2 separate regions of the Homo sapiens genome follow, and region 1 is linked to region 2. Evidence: promoter capture Hi-C in 16 types of primary human blood cells and fetal thymus (Javierre and others, 2016). All regions are on one chromosome and are shown on one strand. Each heading gives the region's core, a stretch centred on a gene start or on the middle of the fragment in contact. The rest is flanking DNA. Distances are from core to core; before and after follow the strand shown. Region 1 overlaps FCHO1 (FCH and mu domain containing endocytic adaptor 1). Region 2 holds the start of UNC13A (unc-13 homolog A).

Region 1 (4,621 bases), core at 1,560-4,059, 84 kb before region 2:
CTGGGCCAGCTTGGGCAGGGAAGATGCTACGTTACTCTGGGACAGGCAATTCCTGGCCTAACCTAGCAAAAGGAAGAATTCTGGACTAGCTTGGGCAGCGGTAATATTGAGCTAGCCGGGGGCAGAGGTACTCCTGGTCTAGCTCAGGTAGAGGGAATCCTGGTCCAGCCTGGAATATGGATACTCCTGGGCTATCCTAGGAGGGGACTTCTGGGATAGCCTGGGCAGGGGAGGGGATCTCGGTCTAGCCTGGGCCAGACCGGGCAGGGGTGCTTCCTCACACAGCTGCAGGTGGCTCTGGCTCCCGCTCCCGCCGGCTTAGTCCTGGAAGGCGAAAGGCCTTGGCTCCCCGCAAACGTTTCATCGCTGAGGATAGATTGGGGGGCACCTGAGCACTGTGAGCCTCCTTTCACATTCAGATCAGCCTCCCTCACCCCCATGGTCCAGCCTGGGCATCCAGGCCCAGACGTACTTGCCTTCCTGCAGGGCAGCCGCACTGTATGCCTCGAAGTCCAGAGGTCCTGAGACAGGAGACGGAAACTCAATTGAGGGGCTGGGCACGGTGGCCCATGCCTGTAATCCCAGCACTTTGGGAGGCTAAGGCGGGCGGATCACCTGAGGTCAGGAGTTCAAGACCAGCCTGGCCACCATGGTGAAACCCTGTCTCTGCTAAAATTACAAAAAAGCCGGACATGGTGGCAGGCGCCTGTAATCCCAGCTACTGGGGAGGCTGAGGCAGGAGAATCGCTTGAACCCAGGAGGCGGAGGTTGCAGTGAGCCGAGACTGCACCACTGCACTCCAGCCTGGGTGACAGAGCAAGACTCTGCCTCAAAAAAATTAAAAAAAAAAAAAAAAGAGAGAGAGAGAGAGAAAGAAACTAAATTGAGGGTGGGGAGACTGCGCTTGGAAAGGGTAGTACACTTTTGGCCACAAAATGGCACCTGGATCTGAACTCAAGGTCCATCAGGTTCCCGGACAAGAACCAGCCCCACATCATCAGAAGTGGGATGGACCAAGGGGCTGGTCTGGTTCCAGCAGGGCAGTGCCACCGCAGGGGGTGACATGAGCTACTTCTACATACTTCCAGCATTTGTGGCTGGAACTTGGGTTGGGTCGGGGAATGGACCATGCGTCTGTGCAGTGGGCTGGGCTTTGAGTGACAGGATAAGGAGTGGGAACTCTCTCCCAAGAACAATGGGGAGCCATGGAAGGTGTGTGAGCAGGAGGAGGACAAAACAGATCTGGGGCCTGTGAAGGGCAAGAGTGGGGCCCCATGCAGGGAGGGGAGACCTGAGCCAGGCCTGAGCCAGAGCGACAGGAGGGAGAAAGAACAGGTTTTGCTAGTTAACAAGACTTGAGGACGTAACTGTATACCAGCATTTAGTGAGTGCCTACTGTGTGCCTGGCACACCCTTTGCCCTTTACCTGCATGAAATCACTGAATGTTGCAACATTATTACATCCTCACTTTACAGATGAGGAAACTGAGGCTCAGAGAAGTCAAAGCACAGGTCCTAGGTCACACAGCAAGCGATGAAGAAAAGACTCAAACCCACGTCTCACTCTAAAACTTTTGCTCTTAACTCCTTCCCAGTCCTGCATCTGCGCATTCCCAAATTGTTCTTTTGCTCAACAACCCTCAATGGCTCCCTTAGGCCCTGGGGGTGAAGTCTGATCAGCCAAGCCTGGCATTCAAGGCTCCTCTGGGATCTGGTTCAAAGACATTTACACATAAGATCAGGCTGGAGAGCTGGACTTGTCAGCAGCCCATTTTTCCCATGAAGAAACCAAGGCCTGGCCATGTGCAGTGGCTCACGCCTGTAATCCCAGCACTTTGGGAGGCCGAGGCAGGCAGATCACCTGAGGTCAAGAGTTCGAGACCAGCCTGGCCAACATGGTGAAACCTCGTCTCTATTAAAAATAAAAAAATAAAAAAAAAATTAGCTGGGCATGGTGGCACATGCCTGTCTGCAGCTGTGGCCCCGAAGCCCGACCCCCAATGGCTGCCCTGACTCACCAGGCTTCTCCCGGCCTGTGCCCTTACTCTCTGCAAACTTCCTGAGTAGCATCTCCACGCTGACGTTCTCGATGTTCTGCTTAAATTCCTCATGCACCTGTGCCGGGTGGGCGGGGTGTGTAACTGGTCAAGGCCCCTTTGCCCAGCAGTGACCCCAGCCTCATTCCTCACACCTGCCCAACTCACCTGCCCAATCTGCACGTGCGTGTCCTCCACCGAGTGAGCATATGAGCCCAGCAGTGCCTTCATGTGCCTCAGGTGTGTCTCCTCCATGGCTTGGAAGCGCTGAAGCAGGAGGGCAGAGGCAGGTGGAAAGGAGGTCAGGGCCAAGAAGAAGTGGCCATATGACTCAGCCTGACCAATCAGAATACCCTAAGCCCTTGGCTCAGTGATTGATTTGGGGAAGGGCCAATGAGAGTCTGCCCTAGGACTTTCATTGACTCTACAGGAAAAGGCACTTCCATTCCTGAGCCAATGTGCTGATGGGATGTAAGTGGGGGTTGCTGGTGCCCAGTTTGATGCACACATGTGCATGCTTGCACACACATGCACACACACACACACACAAGGGGATGTCTGTGTGGGAGTGATGTCCCCAGAGAGAAAAACAGACTTAAGAAGCAGAAATAGTGGTCAGCTGTGGTGTATCATGCCTGTAATCCCAGCACTTTGGGAGGCCAAGGCAGGTGGATCATCTGAGGTCAGGAATTCAAGACCAGTCTGGGCAACATGGTGAAACCGTTTCTACTAAAAATACAAAAATTAGCTGGGTGTGGTGGCACGTGCCTGTAATCCCAACTACTAGGGAGGCTGAGGCAGGAGAATCACTTGAGCCCAGGAGGCGGAGGTTGCAGTGAGCTGAGATCACGCCACTGCACTCCAGCCTGAGTGACAGAGAGATCCCATCTCAAAAAAATAAAAGAAGCAGAAATTCACAATTTCCTGCCAGCACTATTTGAGCACATGGATTCAGCTATGACTGAAACCTCCACAACTCAAAAATAAAACTTTACAGTTCCCTGAGCTTGTCAGTTTTTTTAAATTTTATTTTTTATTTTATTTTTTATTTTTTTGAGACAGAGTCTCGCTCTGTCGCCCAGGCTGGAGTGCAGTGGCGCAATCTCGGCTCACTGCAAGCTCCGCCTCCTGGGTTCTCGCCATTCTCCGGCCTCAGCCTCCTGAGCAGCTGGGACTACAGGCACCCACCACCACGCCCGGCTAATTTTTTTGTATTTTTAGTAGAGAGGGGGTTTCACCGTGTTAGCCAGGATAGTCTCGATCTCCTGACCTCGTGATCCACCTGCCTCGGCCTCCCAAAGTGCTGGGATTACAGGCATGAGCCACCGCGCCCAGCCTTTTTCTTTTCTTTTCTTTTTTTTTTTTATATACACCTGTCGGTTTGAATGAAGGCTTCTATCACTTGTAACTTGAAAAAAGTTCTGATTCCTAATCCTCAGATTCCAATCTGCTTGAATTTATTTTATTTTTTCGAGACAGGGTTCCACTCTATCACCTAACCTGGAGTACAATGGCTCGATCTTGGCTCACTGCAACCTCCGCCTTCTGGTTCAAGTGATTCTCCCGCCTCAGCCTCCTGAGTAGCTGGGATTACAGGCACCTGCCACTACGCCCGGCTAATTTTGTATTTTTAGTAGAGACAGGCTTTCGCCATGTTGGCCAGGCTGGTCTCAAACTCCTGACCTCAGGTGATCCTCCCGCCTCGGCCTCCCAAAGTGCTGGGATTACAGGTGTGAGCCACCACACCCTGCCTGGGATTTCTGCAGTCCATAACCTCCAGGGCAAAGGCATGTGTGGGTCTTAAAGGTACAGATGCCTGGTTCTTACCAGGGCTGAGTCCAGCATCTTCTGCTCAAAGTCAGCTCGGGCTGAGTTGTATTTTTCCACTGAGCGCCGCAGGCTCTCTGCCGCCTTCTTGGTTTTAGTCTCCGCCTACAAAGCACAGGGAGGAAACGGGGATGGGAGGGCGATACTCAGGGGGCCTCCCCCAGGCCCCATCACCTGGCAGGTGAACTCCTCGGGGTACCCAGGGTGTGATCACCCACAGGTTCCAGGACCGTCGCTCTGGGATGTGTTTCCACTCTCTGATCAGGCAGCCCCTCCGCCCCGCGGCAAATTCCTCAGAACCCCCCCACTGTGAGCCCACCTTGTCCATCTCCTTCTGGCTGGTACTCTCCCTCCGCAGCCGCTCCTGGTCCATGCAACGGTTCAGGTAGTTCTCGCGGGACTTGGGCAGGAGCTGGCTGACGCCCGAGAGTACCTGCACAGCATCCAAGGTGCTCACCACTTCCTCCTTGCACTGCGGGGTAGGAGGGGATTTCATGGGTAGACTGTGAAATTCCTGACCTCCCAAACACTCCACGTGATGTCAGCTCCACAGTCTTTTTCTATGTGTGTGTGTGTGTTTTGGTTTGGTTTTTTTTAGACAGAGTTTCGCTCTTGTTGTCCAGGCTGGAGTGCAGTGGCACGATCTCGACTCACTGCAATCTCTGCCTCCCGGTTTCAAGCAATTCTCCTGCCTCAGCCTCCCAAGTAGCTGAGATTACAGGTGCTCACCATCACACCCAGATAATTTTTTGTATTTT
Region 2 (4,134 bases), core at 668-3,167:
TTAAGACCAGGCATGGTGGCTCATGAGCCTGTAATCCCAACATTTTGGGAGGCTGAGACGGGAGGATCACTTGAGCCCAGGAGTTTGAGACAGCCTGTGCGACATGGTGAAACTCTGTCTCTACAAAAAATACAAAAATTAGCTGTGCTGATTTTTTTAAAAATTTAAAGCAGTGACAGATACAAACATGGTTACTATTAGGCATTAAGATTACAACTGGGGCCAGGCGCGGTGGCTCATTCGTGTAATCCCAGCATTTTGGGAGGCCACGGTGGGTGGATCACTTGAGGTCAGGAGTTTGAGACCAGCCTGGCCAACATGGTGAAACCCCATCTCTACAAAAAATACAAAAAAATTAGCTGGATGTGGTGGCGAGCGCCTGTAATCCCAGCTACTCAGGAGGCTGAGGCAGGAAGATCACTTGGAGGTTGAGGTTGCAGTGAACTGAGATGGTGCCACTGCACTCCAGCCTGGGCCACAGATTGAGACTACACCTCCAAAAAAAAAAAAATTACAACTGGTTTCACATGTTAACTCATGTAATACCTCCAGCAACCTTGTGAGGCAGGACTTGTTATCATATTCATTCTACAGGTGCGGAAACTGAGGCACGAGGAGGTCACAAGACCTGCCCAAGGCCATGCTTGTGATGAGAGACAGAGTTTGGTTTTGAACAATGGCCTCACTCAACTCCATGCACATTCTGCATTTATGAAGCTCTTTCATGTGGGCTGGGGGCAGGAGACCCTGTGGGGCTCAGCCTTTCATGCTAGTTTAGGTGCCAGTGATACAGCGAGCAGGTTGCAGGGCAAGGGGCCCACATGGAGCTGCCCAGTTTGATATGTGGGGAGGGGGCCAGGCGCAGTGGCTCAGGTCTGAATCCCAGCACTTTGGGAGGCCGAGATGGGCGGATCCCCTGAGGTCAAGTGTTCAAGACCAGGCTGGCCAACATGGTGAAACCTCGTCTCTACTAAAAATAAAAAAAATAAAATAAAAAAAAAAAGCTGGGCATGGTGGCATGCGCCTGTAGTCCCAGCTACTCGGGGAGGCTGAGGCAGGAGAATCTCTTGATCCCAGGAGGCAGAGGTTGCAGTGAGCCAAGATTGCGTCACTGCATTCCAGCCTGGGCTGCAGAGGGAGACTCCATCTAAAAAAAAGAAAAGTGGGGAGGAGTGGCAGAGTTTCGTTCGGGTCAGGGCCCAATCAGAGGAAGGGATAGGGGCTGGGGGAGTCCAGAGAGGAGAAACAAAGGCTCAGCTTGGGGCAGTCAGGGAAGCCTTCCTGGAGGAGAGGATATTCAGACAAGACATTGATGGATGAAAAGGAGTTCAGAGTGTGGGCAAGGACCCATGGGCTGGATGGCTTAGAGACATAGAGAGAGACCTAGACAGGATGCAGTAGAGCTGCAAAAAGACTTTACAGAGAGAGGCTAAGAGACACATGACTGAGAGAGCAGTGGACAGAGTCAGAGGAACAGAGACCCAGGGAGAGAAAGAGACCAGGCAGTAGAGTTAGAGAGACAGAGACGTAGAGACAGAGGAAGAGAGATACTCAGAGAACAGGACCATCTGCCCGGTGCTGGTGCCGGGCGTACACACAAGAGCTTGCATTTGCCTGTACTTGCTTGAGTATTGCAGGGAGGCGTTTGCCCAGGTTACCAGGGCAGGAATGTCCATGCATGGGTGGCGGGGGCACGTGCACCATTTCAGTGCAGGTGAGGGTCTGCACAGGAGGAAACCTGCTTGGGGGCCGCCGTCGCCCCTTGTCCCCCTGCAACGAGGAGGTGTGGGGCGAGGCGCCCCTTCCCGGAGCCAGGCCCTTTAACGCCCCCCCAGCCCGCAGCGCCCCCGCCCCATCAGGCGTCCCTGGGCTCCGCCTGCCCGCCCCGCATCAGCGCCACGTCAGGCGCTGTCCGCGCCCCCGGTGCTGAACCAAGATGGCCGGTGGCGGCCGGGCCCCGGCGTGAGCCAAGCGCGGGCTGCAGCCGGGAGATGCCCCAGCCCAGCGGCCGCTGAGCCCGACCCGACAGAGCCGGCCCGGCCGCCTCCGGCCCACCTGCGAGCTCGGAGACATGTCTCTGCTTTGCGTTGGAGGTAGGAGGCGAGGCTGGGGGTCGGGGGACCCGTGTGGACGCGGGCTGGGGTCGGGGTCCGCGTGGATGCGGCTCCCAGGGGGTTCCTGGGGGGTGACCCGAGTCCAGGTGGCTGGACTTTTGAGAGGGGTAGCCCTTGTCGACGCAGCTGGGCCCCGGAGGGGGTGATCCGTGTAGACGCGGCAGGGCTCTCGGGGGTCCTGGTGGCCGCTGCTGGAGGGGTCGTGTGGACGCGGCTGAACGCGGAGGCCCGTGTGGACGTGGACGGGTATCCGGGGTTCTACCCGGAAACGATCTAGACTGGGGCGTCTGTGTAGACCAGGTTTTTAGAGGGTCAGTGAGGAAGAGTCTGGGCTCGGTAGTTTGATTGAAGCCTGCAGGGGTGCTTGGAAGGGGTCTGGTGTTGTGGGCTGGGTTACGGGTCCTCATGGACGCGGACCCGGCTGGAAATTCGAAGGAGAGTGCGGTGGGAGGGTTCTCCAAGCCGTGGGGATGTAAGATATAGGTAGAGGGGCTTGGCCATCAGGGCATCCACGAGTTCTAGGACTCTCCCAGCCCTAGGTGTAAAGAGGACTGGAGTGGGGGGAGTGTGGAGACAGGAGACCCCTCCCAGCGTCCAGAGAGGGCTGTGACTGGAGGTCTGGGGGCGCTTTTCCAGTTAACTCTTTGGCCTCCCGAGTGAGGGGGTTGGAGGAATGTCCAGAAGGTCTTCCCGCTCCCTGCCCCCTCCGGTTCTCCCAAACACGTTTCAGGGCCTTCTCGGCAGGGAGCCTACTTCTTGGAAGAGCAATGTCTCCTGGTCCCCCTCCTGGCCCATCCTCACCTCACCCACTTTGCACTGGAGAGAGGGAGGGAGGGAGACGTGAGGTGGGGGGGGAGCTATTTTGGGGCCAGAACGCCATCTGCACAGAGGCCCACGCCCAGGCCCACGCTCTGCGTTGGGGTTGGAGGAGGGAGGGAGACGTGGGAGGGGCATGACCCCCCACCCCACACCTTTATGGCTCTGGGGTCGTGGGGAAGCCAGCCCAACCGAACCCAGGCGTTCTGGGCACTCCCGTTTGAGAAATCAAACTCTGGGAGACCTTGGGCGGCAGGGGTGGATGTGGACCGCCGTTCCACGCCTACAGAGCTCTGAACCCCTGGTTCTTAAGGACTGGGGTCCCCCCGTCACTCCCACCCATTTCAAGAAGGCTGGGGTGGGGGAAGGGGTGTGTCTGCCAAGCCTGAGACTGCAGGCTTCGGGAGACCTCGGGCGACAGGAAGCGTGCGTGTGCTGAACTCCTGCTGCCTGGACACAGGGTGGGCAGGCCGGGGAGCCGGGAACCGCCCCCGCCGCCCCTCCTCCTCCCTCCCCTCCCCCTCGGCCGATTCATTCACAAACCCTGCCCCGCCCGCCCGCTCCCCGCCGCGGCAGCTTCCGAGTGCAAATCCGGCCGGGCTGGGCCGGCGTGGACGCGGGTGTTCTTAAAGGGACAGGGGCCTACTTTCTCTAAGCTCGTTTCTGCTGGACGGGGCTGGGGGTGGTGGAAGAAGGGTCCCTAGAGTCAAAGGTCAACTCCTCCATCCCCTAGCCTCCAGGCCTATGGAGTTAGGGGAGTAGGGAAGTGAAGGAGACCCCTAGGCGACCCCCACCGCCTAGGCCTGAGGACGGAATGGGAGGAGAACTTGAATGTCCAGACCCCCTACTGACCTCTCCCCCTGCTCTAAGTAGCCGGGCTCTTAAAGGTGGCACTGGAGGAGGTTCCGACGTGGGTGTTCTTGGCTGACTCCTCTATCCTCTCTCTTCTCCCCCCAGCATCCCGCCCCACCCCGCCTCACATCCTCCAAGTTGGGCTTCTCTGGAAGGTTTGCCTAGTGGAGTGGGGGGGGGGGGGGGGGGGCGGGGATCTCACCCTTAACTCTGACGCAAACAGGAGGCTCGGCTGCGGGGGTGGCATTAAGGGGGGGCAGCAGGAGGCAAGAGGGATGAGGCTTCCAGAAACAGAGACGTTGGGGGAGGACTGTGCTGGATTCTGTGGACTTTACAGGGAGGGGCCCGGCTG

What was found. The method cuts DNA at HindIII sites, captures the fragments that hold promoters and counts their contacts. A CHiCAGO score of 5 or more calls a contact.
Region 1: a contact is called between a fragment that was not itself captured here and the fragment with the promoter of UNC13A in region 2, in 4 of 17 cell types (M2 macrophages, M0 macrophages, M1 macrophages and 1 more). The highest score is 8.5, in M2 macrophages.

The regions. Positions count from the first base shown.
Region 1 is chr19:17,770,139-17,774,759 of GRCh38, reverse strand. FCHO1 (FCH and mu domain containing endocytic adaptor 1) reads right to left here. Exons shown (of 29, transcript NM_015122.3): 8 at 4,183-4,335; 9 at 3,864-3,968; 10 at 2,205-2,303; 11 at 2,019-2,115; 12 at 477-521; 13 at 282-366. Among named protein-coding and RNA genes, the nearest start is that of FCHO1, 21 kb to the right of the region's middle. The HindIII fragment of the contact is 7,982 bases long and covers 1-4,621 here.
Region 2 is chr19:17,686,137-17,690,270 of GRCh38, reverse strand. It overlaps UNC13A (unc-13 homolog A), which reads left to right and starts at 1,917. Exons shown (of 44, transcript NM_001080421.3): 1 at 1,917-2,093. The coding sequence starts at 2,072. RefSeq lists a silencer at 2,399-2,581 and enhancers at 1,815-2,775, 2,776-3,737. The HindIII fragment of the contact is 13,980 bases long and covers 1-4,134 here.